Linked DNA regions of Homo sapiens: region 2 is linked to region 1. The links are contacts of gene promoters, found by promoter capture Hi-C in human tissues and cell types (Jung and others, 2019). All regions are on one chromosome and are shown on one strand. Each heading gives the region's core, a stretch centred on a gene start or on the middle of the fragment in contact. The rest is flanking DNA. Distances are from core to core; before and after follow the strand shown. Region 1 holds the start of ZNF525 (zinc finger protein 525). Region 2 overlaps ZNF611 (zinc finger protein 611).

What was found. Contacts are between HindIII fragments. The study calls those that stand out against the background at their distance.
Region 2: a fragment that was not itself captured here is called in contact with the fragment with the promoter of ZNF525 in region 1 in 1 of the 25 tissues and cell types used here (IMR-90 fibroblasts).

What each region holds. Positions count from the first base shown.
Region 1 is chr19:53,361,680-53,366,954 of GRCh38, forward strand. ZNF525 (zinc finger protein 525) reads left to right here and starts at 4,026. Exons shown (of 4, transcript NM_001348156.2): 1 at 4,026-4,080. RefSeq lists silencers at 3,914-3,963, 4,364-4,423 and an enhancer at 4,074-4,323. The HindIII fragment of the contact is 12,378 bases long and covers 1-5,275 here.
Region 2 is chr19:52,705,192-52,710,348 of GRCh38, forward strand. It overlaps ZNF611 (zinc finger protein 611), which reads right to left. Exons shown (of 6, transcript NM_001161499.2): 6 at 1-1,673. Among named protein-coding and RNA genes, the nearest start is that of ZNF611, 27 kb to the right of the region's middle. The HindIII fragment of the contact is 5,966 bases long and covers 528-5,157 here.

The sequences.
Region 1 (5,275 bases), core at 2,776-5,275:
AGAGGTTTTGCTTGTGTTTCACCAGGAGAAAATCAGCTTCCTGTTTAGATACCCACTAGACATTTAAAGTTCTACAATGAACCCATCAGAGATGCAAAGAAAAGCACCTCCACGGAGATGGAAACACCACAATCAAACACCATCGATTCACAAGGTGAACAAAATGGTGATGTCAGAAGAACAGATGAAGTTGCCATCCACCAAGAAAGCAGAGCCGCCGACTTGGGCACAATTAAAGAAGCTGACACAGTTACCAAAAAAAAGCCTAGAGAACACAAAGGTGACACAAACTCCAGAGAACACGCTGCTTGCAGCTTTGATGATTGTATCAACGGTGGTAAGTCTCCCCTTGCCTGCAGGGGCAGCTGCAGCTAATTATACCTACTGGGCCTATGTGCCTTTCCCGCCCTTAATTCGGGCAGTCACATGGATGGATAATCCTATTGAAGTATATGTTAATAATAGTGCATGGGTACCTGGCCCCACAGATGATCGTTGCCCTGCCAAACCTGAGGAAGAAGGAATGATGATAAATATTTCCACTGGGTATCGTTATCCTCCTATTTGCCTAGGGAGAGCACCAGCATGTTTAATGCCTGCAATCCAAAATTGGTTGGTAGAAGTACCTACTGTCGGTACCACCAGTAGATTCACTTATCACACGGTAAGTGGAATGTCTCTCAGGCCACAGGTAAATTATTTACAGGACTTTTCTTATCAATGATCATTACAATTTAGGCCTAAACAAAAGCCTTGCCCCAAGGTAATTCCCAAAGAATCAAAAGGCACAGAAGTTTTAGTTTGGGAAGAATGTGTGGCCGATAGTGCGGAGATATTACAAAACAATGAATTCGGAACTATTATAGATTGGACATGTCGAGGTCAATTCTACCACAATTGCACAGGACAAACTCAGTCATGTCCCAGTGCACAAGTGAGTCCAGCTGTTAACAGTGACTTAACAGAAAGTTTAGACAAACATAAGCACAAAAAATTACAGTCTTTCTACCCTTTGGAATGGGGAGAAAAAGGAATCTCTACTCCAAGACTAAAAATAATAAGTCTTGTTTCTGGTCCTGAACATCCACAATTATGGATGCTTACTGTGGCCTCATATTGCATTAGAATTTGATCTGGAAATCAAGCTATATAAAGAAGAGATCGCAAGCCATTTTATACTATCGACCTAAATTCCAGTCTAACAGTTCCTTTGCAAAGTTGTATAAAGCCCCCTTATATGCTAGTTGTAGGAAATATAGTTATTAAACCAGACTCCCAAACTATAACCTGTGAAAACTGCAGATTGTTTACTTGCATTGATTCGACTTTTAATTGGCAGCACCATATTCTGCTAGTGAGAGCAAGAGAAGGCGTGTGGGTCCCTGTGTCCATGGACTGACCGTGGGAGGCCTCGCCATCCGTCCATATTTTGACTGAAGTATTCAAAGCCATTTTAAATAGATCCAAAATATTCTTTAATTGCAGTGATTATGGGACTAATTGCAGTCACAGCTACGGCCTCTGTGGCAGGAGTTTCATTGTACTCTTCTGCTCAGACAGTAAACTTTTTTAATTATTGGCAAAAGAATTCTACAAGATTGTGGAATTCATAATCTGGTATTGATCAAAAATTGGCAAATCAAATTAATGACCTTAGACACAATGTTGTTTGGATGGGAGATAGGCTCACGAGCTTGAAACATCATTTCTGGTTACACTGTGACTGGAATATGTCACATTTTTGTATTACATCCTAAGCCTATAATGAGTCTGAGCATCATTGGGACATGGTTAGATGCCATCTACAAGGAAGAGAAGATGATCTTACTTTAGACATTTCAAAATTAAAAGAAAAATTTTTGAGGCATCAAAAACCCATTTAAATTTGGTGCCAGGAACTGAGGCAATCGCGAAAGCTGCTGATGGCCTCGCAAATCTTAACCCGGTCACTTGGGTTAAAACCATCGCAAGTTCCACTATTGTAAATTTCATATTAATCCTTGTGTTCCTGTTCTGTCTGTTGTTAGTCTGCAGGTGTACCCAGCAGCTCCGAAGAGACAGCGACCATTGAGAATGGGTGATGACGACGATGGTGGTTTTGTCAAAAAGAAAAGGGGGAAATGTGGGGAAAAGAAAGAGAGATCAGACTGTTACTGTGTCTATGTAGAAAAGGAAGACATAAGAAACTCCATTTTGATCTGTATTAAGAAAAATTGTTCTGCTTTGCGATGCTGTTAATCTGTAACTTTAGCCCCAACCCTGTGCTCACAGAAACATGTGCTGTATTGAATCAAGGTTTAATGGATTTAGGGCTGTGCAGGGTGTGCCTTGTTAACAATATGTTTGCAGGCAGTATGCCCGGTAAAAGTTATCGCCATTCTCCATTCTCTGTTAACCAGGGACACAATGCACTGCGGAAAGCCGCAGGGACCTCTGCCCTAGAAAGCCTGGGTATTGTCCAAGTTTCCCCCCACTGAGACAGCCTGAGATATGGCCTCATGGGAAAAGAAAGACCTTATATCCCCCAACCCGACACCCGTGAAGGGTCTGTGCTGAGGAGGAGTAGTGAAAGAGGGAGGCCTCTTTGCAGTCAAGATAAGAGGAAGGCTTCTGTCTCCTGCTCATTTCTGGGAATGGAATGCCTCGGTGTAAAGCCGACCATTCATTCTATTCTGAGGTAGGAGAAAACCGCCCTGTGGTTGGAGGTGAGACATGCTGGCAGCAATACTGCTCTGTGACTCTTTGCTACACTGAGATGTTTGTGTGAAGAGAAACATAAATCTAGCCTACGTGCACATCCAGGCACAGTACCTTTCCTTGAACTTATTCATGACACAGATTCCTTTGCTCACGTTTCCCTGCTGACCTTCTCGCCACCATCACCCTGTTGCCCTGCCACACTCCCCTCACAAAGATAGTAAAAATAGTGATCAATAAATACTGAGGGAACTCAGAGACCAGCGCCGGTGCGGGTACTCGCACACTGAGCTCCGGTTGTCTGGGCCCACTGCTGTTTCTCTATACTTTGTCTCTGTGTCTTATTTCTTTTCTCAGTTTCTCATCTCCACCTGATGAGAAACACCCGCAGGTGTGGAGGGGCAGGCCCCCTTCAGGCTGAGGCAGGGGAATCACTTGAACCCAGGAAGCAGAGGCTTGCAGTGAGTCGAGATCCCACCACTGCACTGCAGCCTGGATGACAGAGAAATACTCTGTCTCAAAACAAAAGAAAAGAAATAAGTAAATACATAAAAGAAAGTAACAGATCTCTTCCACAAATGTGGAATGGACAACTAACTGGATATCCACATGGAAAAGAACAATGTTGGATCCCTATCTCATACAATCAACCTCTTATTTTAAAACGTAAAAAAAAAACAACGAAAAATAAAGAGAGAAAGAGAGAAACGAGGAAGGGAGCCCTGCGGGAGGGGGTGTTACTTTGTCGCCCAGGCTGGCCTGGACCCCCAGGTTCAGCGATCCTCCCGCCCTGCTTCCTGAGTAGATGGGACCTCAGGCTCCCGCGCCCGCGTCCGCATCCTTGCTGTGTTTATCCGGCAGGTGGTGACCTCACTCCTCGCTGGCCTGAGCACTCCGTCCAGCATCCCAGGCGGTGGCTTTAGGGAAGTCTCTGCAGCTGAGCACAGGGTGGACTCTCCCTCCGGAGTGAATGGAGAATAGAAAGGGAGAGGATTTCTATTCTATTCTCTGGGCCGTCAGCATGACATTGTAAGTTCTGCCCAAGCAGGGCTTTGCATTTCACATTCTACTTTGCATCCGCGTTTCAGACAATTCCAGGGCTTTTGAATCATGGATCGGCCTTCCTGGCCATCTCGCCTCCAAAACCCAAAAACAGAGGCGGTGGGAGGGAGGCTGAGAGACGCACAGATCCCGCCCCAGCCCAGCCCCGCCCCGCCCTCTGCCGGTACTAAAGGGCAAGGTCTCTCCGCCTCTACCCCTACCTGGCCCAGGCCCCGCCCACCTCCTCGCAGGCCCCGCCCAGGCCTGGCTTCTGTCCTTCCCCGCTCAGACGCGCGCAAACCCGGAAGCAGATCGCGTGGAGTGAAGGTCCCTCAGCGGCGCGTGAGTTTCGCTCCATCTTGTATGAAGTCTGCTCTTCCCAGGTCCCCGGCGCTTCTGTCCCTGGGACGTGGGGTCCCTACAGACCTGGAAATTCTCACCCGTCTTCCTTCGCCCAGAGCAAATTGAGACGTCCCCGTGAGAGCCCGGGGGTCACTTCCTTTTGGGTTTAAAGTCTCCCTGAGGCTGGTCCCGTTCCGGATCTTTCTGCTATAGGGCAATATATACACTTTCTATCGCGTAGTTTTCCTGCTCTAAACCTTTTTCTGACTCCTCCCGCCCCGCGCTTTTTAAAGTCCTCACCCGAGAGGTGAATTCCCGCCCTGGGCGCCTCCCAGCCTCGCCCTCGTCGGCCCCTAGAGCGCAGCGTCGCAGCTCCGGTCCCGGGGAGGCCGAGTTCTCTGCCTGTCCTGGGATCCTACAAACCCCACCCTTGTCTTAAGGCGCCGTCGCCCCCCACGTCCCTCCTCATGCCGGGCCCTGCTGCTCCCCAGGTCTCCCATCCGCAGTCACAGCTTGCCCTGAGCCTGCGTTAGGGGAGGTGCCCGGGTTCTGTCCTGTGACACGGGGTGTTCTTGCCTGCCCAGTTCCAGCCCCTGGAAAATAAGCTCCTCCGGGATGCAGGCGTCTTACTCCAAACCCTCCTGTGATTGTGTGGGCCAAAGGGATCGGGAGACAGACAGCAGTAGAAAACCTGAGACAGAGAAAAGAAGAATGAGAAAGGCCCATAACAGATGGCAAAGTAGAGGATGGGTGAGGGATTTGCCAAGAGACAGCAAAAGTGAAAAAAAAAAAAAAAAAGATAAGCAGGAGGAGAAAAGCAACTAGAGAAATGTAGAGAAAAGCTAGATGTACAGAGAGATGAAGGACAGCAAGGTAGGGAGAGGGACAGCAAAGAGGGAGGCTCATCAGGGTGAGGGAGAGGAGGAGGGATTTGGAGCCAGGGCAGACAGAGCAGAGTGGTGCTGGTGGCAAAGAGAACAGAGGGAGAACCACAGCAGGGAGGACACCTGGGGATCTGGGGTGCCAGAGAGTGGGGACAGGGGGTATAACAGAGAAGAGAGAATTTAACGGGGAGAGCAGAGGAGGCGCAGAGATGGTGTTGCGGGAAACTGAGGACTAGAGAGACTGATATGGGGGAGACAGGAGGATGTTTATTTAAGGTACACAGCGGCTCAGCAGATTTACATCTAAAAAG
Region 2 (5,157 bases), core at 2,261-4,760, 660 kb before region 1:
AGGTTTCTCACCACTATGAAGTCTACGATGGCAATGAAGGGATGACCTGCGACTGAAGGTCTTGCTGCACTCATTACACTTGTAAGGTTTCTCACCACTATGAACTCTATGATGGCATACAAGGTATGACCTGTGACTGAAGGTCTTGCTGCACTCATTACACTTGTAAGGTTTCTCTCCACTATGAATTCTAGTATGTTTTGCCAGATAGGAATGACACGCAAAAGCCTTGTCACAAACCTTACATTTGTATGGTTTCTCTCCAGTATGACCTATCTTATGTGTCTCAAGGCTTGATTTACGACTGAAAACCTTTTCACATTCATCACATTTGTAAGGTTGCTCCCCAGTATGAATTGACTTATGAATTAAAAGATCTGAATTTTGACCAAAGGTCTTCCCACATTCATTACACTTGTAAGGTTTTTCTCCACAGTCAATTCTAGTATGTTTTGCCAGTTGTGAACTCCACACAAAAGCCTTGTCACAAACCTTACATTTGTAAGATTTCTCTCCACCATGAAGTCTATGATGGCATACAAGGGATGACTTGTGACTGAAGGTCTTGCCACACTCATTACATTTATAAGTTTTCTTTGCAGTATGAATTCTTCTATGTCGAGCCAGCTGTGAATGCCACGTGAAAGCTGTGTCACAAACCTTACATCTGTATGGTTTCTCTCCAGTATGAATTCTCTTATGTGTCTCAATGGTTGATTTCCGACTGAAAACTTTGTCACATTCTTCACATTTGTAAGGTTTCTCTCCAGTATGAATTCTATGATGTGAAAGTTGTGATTGTTGATTAAAAGCCTTGTCACATTCATTACACTTGTAAGGATTTTCTCCAGTATCAATTGCCTTATCAATTAGAAGGGCTGAATTTTGACCAAAGATCTTGCCACACTCATTACAATTGTAACGTTTTACTCCAGTATGAAGTCTACGATGGCAGGTAAGGGATGACTCCTGACTGAAGGTCTTGCCACACTCTTTACACTTGTAAGGTTTCTCAACAGTGTGACATCTATCATGGCATGCAAGGTATTGCTCGTGATTAAAGAGCTTGCCACATACATCACATTTATATTGTTTGTCTCCTAAATGGGGTATCTGGTGTTTCCTTAAGAGTGAGCTACAATTAAAGGCTTTGCCACTCTTATTACATTGGAAAGATTTTTCTCTCATGTGTACTTCCTGTTTTTGTGGGAGTAATGAAGAATTCAGGGGATTATTCCCATAGTTATTAGAAATCTGGGTTTGGGGCCTACAGGAAATTCTTTGGAATGTTGAAACTGAGGGAGCATCATTAGTAGACTTCTCAAGTTGATTACCAATTTCACCTTTGATCTGAAATATGTGGAGTTCAGGCAGATGTGAATAAAAGCTTGATCCAAGCTGATCTTTAATAGGCTTGTTTCCAGCATGCCTGTGATCATGTTGGTCTGTGCTACCAGTCAACTTTTTTATTTTTGTCATGGGTGCTTCAAGGCCATTTCTTTCATCTTCTTGACACTGAAACTCAATGTCATGAATTTCTTTCTCAATTTCCTGGAAGCAAAAATCTCCAATGTGATGACTTTCATGTCTTTGCAATGTCCCTGTGTGGATCACTTCTGTATTGCCTTGCCCTGTTGACAAGACCTCCTTCATCATGCATTTGGAAGAGATATCTACAAAATATAAACACCAATACATTTCCAATTAAGTACAGATGGTAAATCACACTGAAGTGCATAAATATGACACAAAAAACGATACTTATTTTGAACTTCCCAAACATCATCTTCAAAGTTTAGGAAAACGAAAGGAGCAATATTCTTTAGTAAATAAAGGGTGATTACATGTCCTTCAAGACAATTCTATGAAAGCCTATTTCCTATGTCATGACAAAACACTGACAGGGCACAAACATGTGTAAGCCTAAAGTAAGGAGTATTTTTCCACTGTGACCCTGAACTGTATCACAATTTGCAAAAAGCATATCACCATCACATCGGTGAAGAGAAAAATATATACTCTTCATATTTAAAGCATATTTACTCTATACAAATAAATGCTAAAAAAAAAAAAAAAACTCCCCACACAACATACTATATTGGTAAATAATCCACAACAAGCTCATGTAAGGATAACCAAAAGCAATGGAAATTCCGTATTGTCAAACAATTATAGCACTGAGAAGATAAGAAAAGATTACAAAAATTAGCCAGGTATGGTGGCCCATGCCTGTAGTCACAGCTATTCAGGAGGCTGAAGCACAAGAATCACTTAAACCTGGGAGGTAGAGGTTGCAGTGAGCCAGGATCACACCACTGCACTCCAGCCTGGGTGACAAAGTGAGACTCTACCTAAAAAAAAAAAAAAAAAGTTAATAGAATATTTTTCTGAATAAATGTCATAAAATTACCTATAAGAACAGGCACTTTGTGACTTTTCAAAAATTTTTTGTATTTTTATTTTTTTGAGATGGAGTCTTGCACTCCAGCTTGGAGTGCCATGGTGCCATCTCAGCTCACTGCAGCCTCTGCCTCCTGGGTTGAAGTGATTCTCCTGCCTCAGCTTCCAGAGTAGCTTGGACTACAGGCATGCACCACTATGCCTGGCTAATTTTTGTGTTTTTAGTAAAGATGGGGACCATATTGGCCAGGCTGGTCTCAAACTCCTGACCTCAAGTAATCCACCCACCTCGGCCTCCCAAAGTTCTGGGATTACAGGTGTGAGCCACTGCACCTGGTGGCACTTTGTGACATTAACGAATAGTGCATGTCAGTTATATTGCATACCACATACCGAAAAGCCATATGCAAAATTATAAAAATTAATTAATAAAATATTGTAACCCAAGATAAAACCAGCAAGCAAATAAGTACATTTATACAGCCTGCAGAATTCTAAACAACTCCCTCTTAAGAAAAAAGCCACAACTTCTACTCAACCACCAGCACACAATATAAGAACTGAAATACATGTTAAGATCACTACCTTCTGATGTATGAGGCCAAGAAAATACACAGCATTAGGCCAGGCGCCTTGGCTCAAGCCTGTAATCCCACCACTTTGGGAGGCCGAGTCAGACGGATCACGAGGTCAGGAGATTGAGACCATCCTGGCTAACACAGTGAAACCCCGTCTCTACTAAAAAAATACAAAAACATTAGCTGGGCATGATGGCTGGTGCCTGTAGTCCAAGCTACTCTGGAAGCTGAGGCAGGAGAATGGCATGAACCTGGAAGATGGAGACTGCAGTGAGCCCAGATCGCGCCACTGCACTCTAGCCTGGGTGACAGAGCGAGACTCTGTCTCAAAAATGAAATAAAATAAAGAAAATACACAGCATCTTAAGAAATAAGAATTGGCTAATGGCTGGGCACGGTGGCTCACACGTGTAATCCCAGTACTTTGGCAGGCCAAGGCATGTGGATCATGAGGTCAGGAGTTCAAGAACAGCCTGACCAACATGGGGAAACCCCATCCTACGAAGAATACAAAAAAATCAGCTGGGCCTGGTGGAGGGCGCCTATAATCTCAGCTACTTTGGAGGCTGAGGCAAAAGAATCATTTGAACTCAGGAGGTGGAGGGTGCAGTGAGCTGAGATCGCACCATTGCACTCCAGCCTGGGTGACAGGGCAAGACTCCGTCTCAAAAAAAAATAAACAAAGGAAGAAAGAATTGACTAATAGTATAGAAAAGTGTAATTATGATGTCACAACTACACTTATGTAACAGCCAGGCAATACAGCAATTTTATATATATGCATTCCCCATAGTTATCTAGTTCACTATGCATAAAATATAAAACATAGAATGTGTACTAGGAAAATTTATTAACTGAGATCAGAGAAAACATTGTATAAAACAAATTGCACAATAAGAACAAAAAATATGATGTATGTTCCCTGGCCCGAATGTTCGCATTGGCTAAAAGCCACTATCAGATTTCTTATTCCCCAATAGGATGTTCCTGCAGTTGGGGTCTTTTAGAGAGTTTTGTAATGGGTGTTGACTAATTATGAATAGCACTAGGGCTTTTAATTGTATTTTTTCTTTCTTTTTTTCTTTCTCTCTTTACTATTTATTTTTATTTATTTATTTTTTGAGAGGGAGTATCACTGTGTAGCCCAGCCTGGAGTGCGGTGGTGCAATCTTGGCTCACTGCAACCTCTGCCTCCCGGGTTCAAGCGATTCTCCTGCCTCAGCCTTCAGAGTAGCTAGGACTACAGGCATGCACCACCATGCCCAGATAATTTTTATATTTTTAGTAGAGAAGGGGTTTCACCATGTTGGCCAGGATGGTCTCAATCTTTTGACCTCATGATCCGCCCTCCTCGCCTCCCAAAGTGCTGGGATTACAGGCGTGAGCCACCATGCCCGGACTCTTTATTTATTTTTGAGACAGAATTTCGCTCTTGTTGCCCAGGCTGGAGTGCAATAGCGTGATCTAGGATCACCACAACCACCGCCTCGCAGGTTCAAGCGATTCTCCTGCCTCAGCCACCCGAGTAGCTGGGATTACAGGCATGTGCCACCACTCCCGGCTAATTTTGTAGTTTTAGTAGAGATGTGGTTTCTCCATGTTGGTCAGGCTGGTCTCAAACTCCCGGCCTCATGTGATTTGGCTGTCTCAGCCTCCCAAAGTGCTGGGATTGCAGGCGTGAGCCACCATGCCCGGCAAAGACTAGTGCTTTTATAAAAAGAGACAGTAAAGAGCTCATTGCCTGCTCCTCTTTACACCACATCAGGACACGGCAGGAAGACGGCTGGGCTAAACCATGAAGAAGGCTCTCACCAGGAGCCAATCTAGCTGACATCTTGTTCTTGGATTTCCCACTTTCCAGATTCATGAGCAACAAATTTCTATGTCTTAAGCTTTCCAGTTTCAGCTATTTCTTTTTTTGTCTGTTTTTGAGACTGAGTAATGCTTCATCACCCAGGCTGGAGTGCAGTGGCACGATTCTCCTACCTAAAGAGATTCTCATGCCTCAGCCTCTTGAGTAGCAGGGAGTACAGACACATGCCACCATGCCTGGCTAATTTTTTTTTTTTTTTTTTTTGGGAAACAGAATCTAACTCTGTCACCCGGGATGGAGTAAGTGGTGCAATCATGGCTCACTGCAACATCCAACTCCAAGGTTCAAGTGATTCTCATGTCTCAG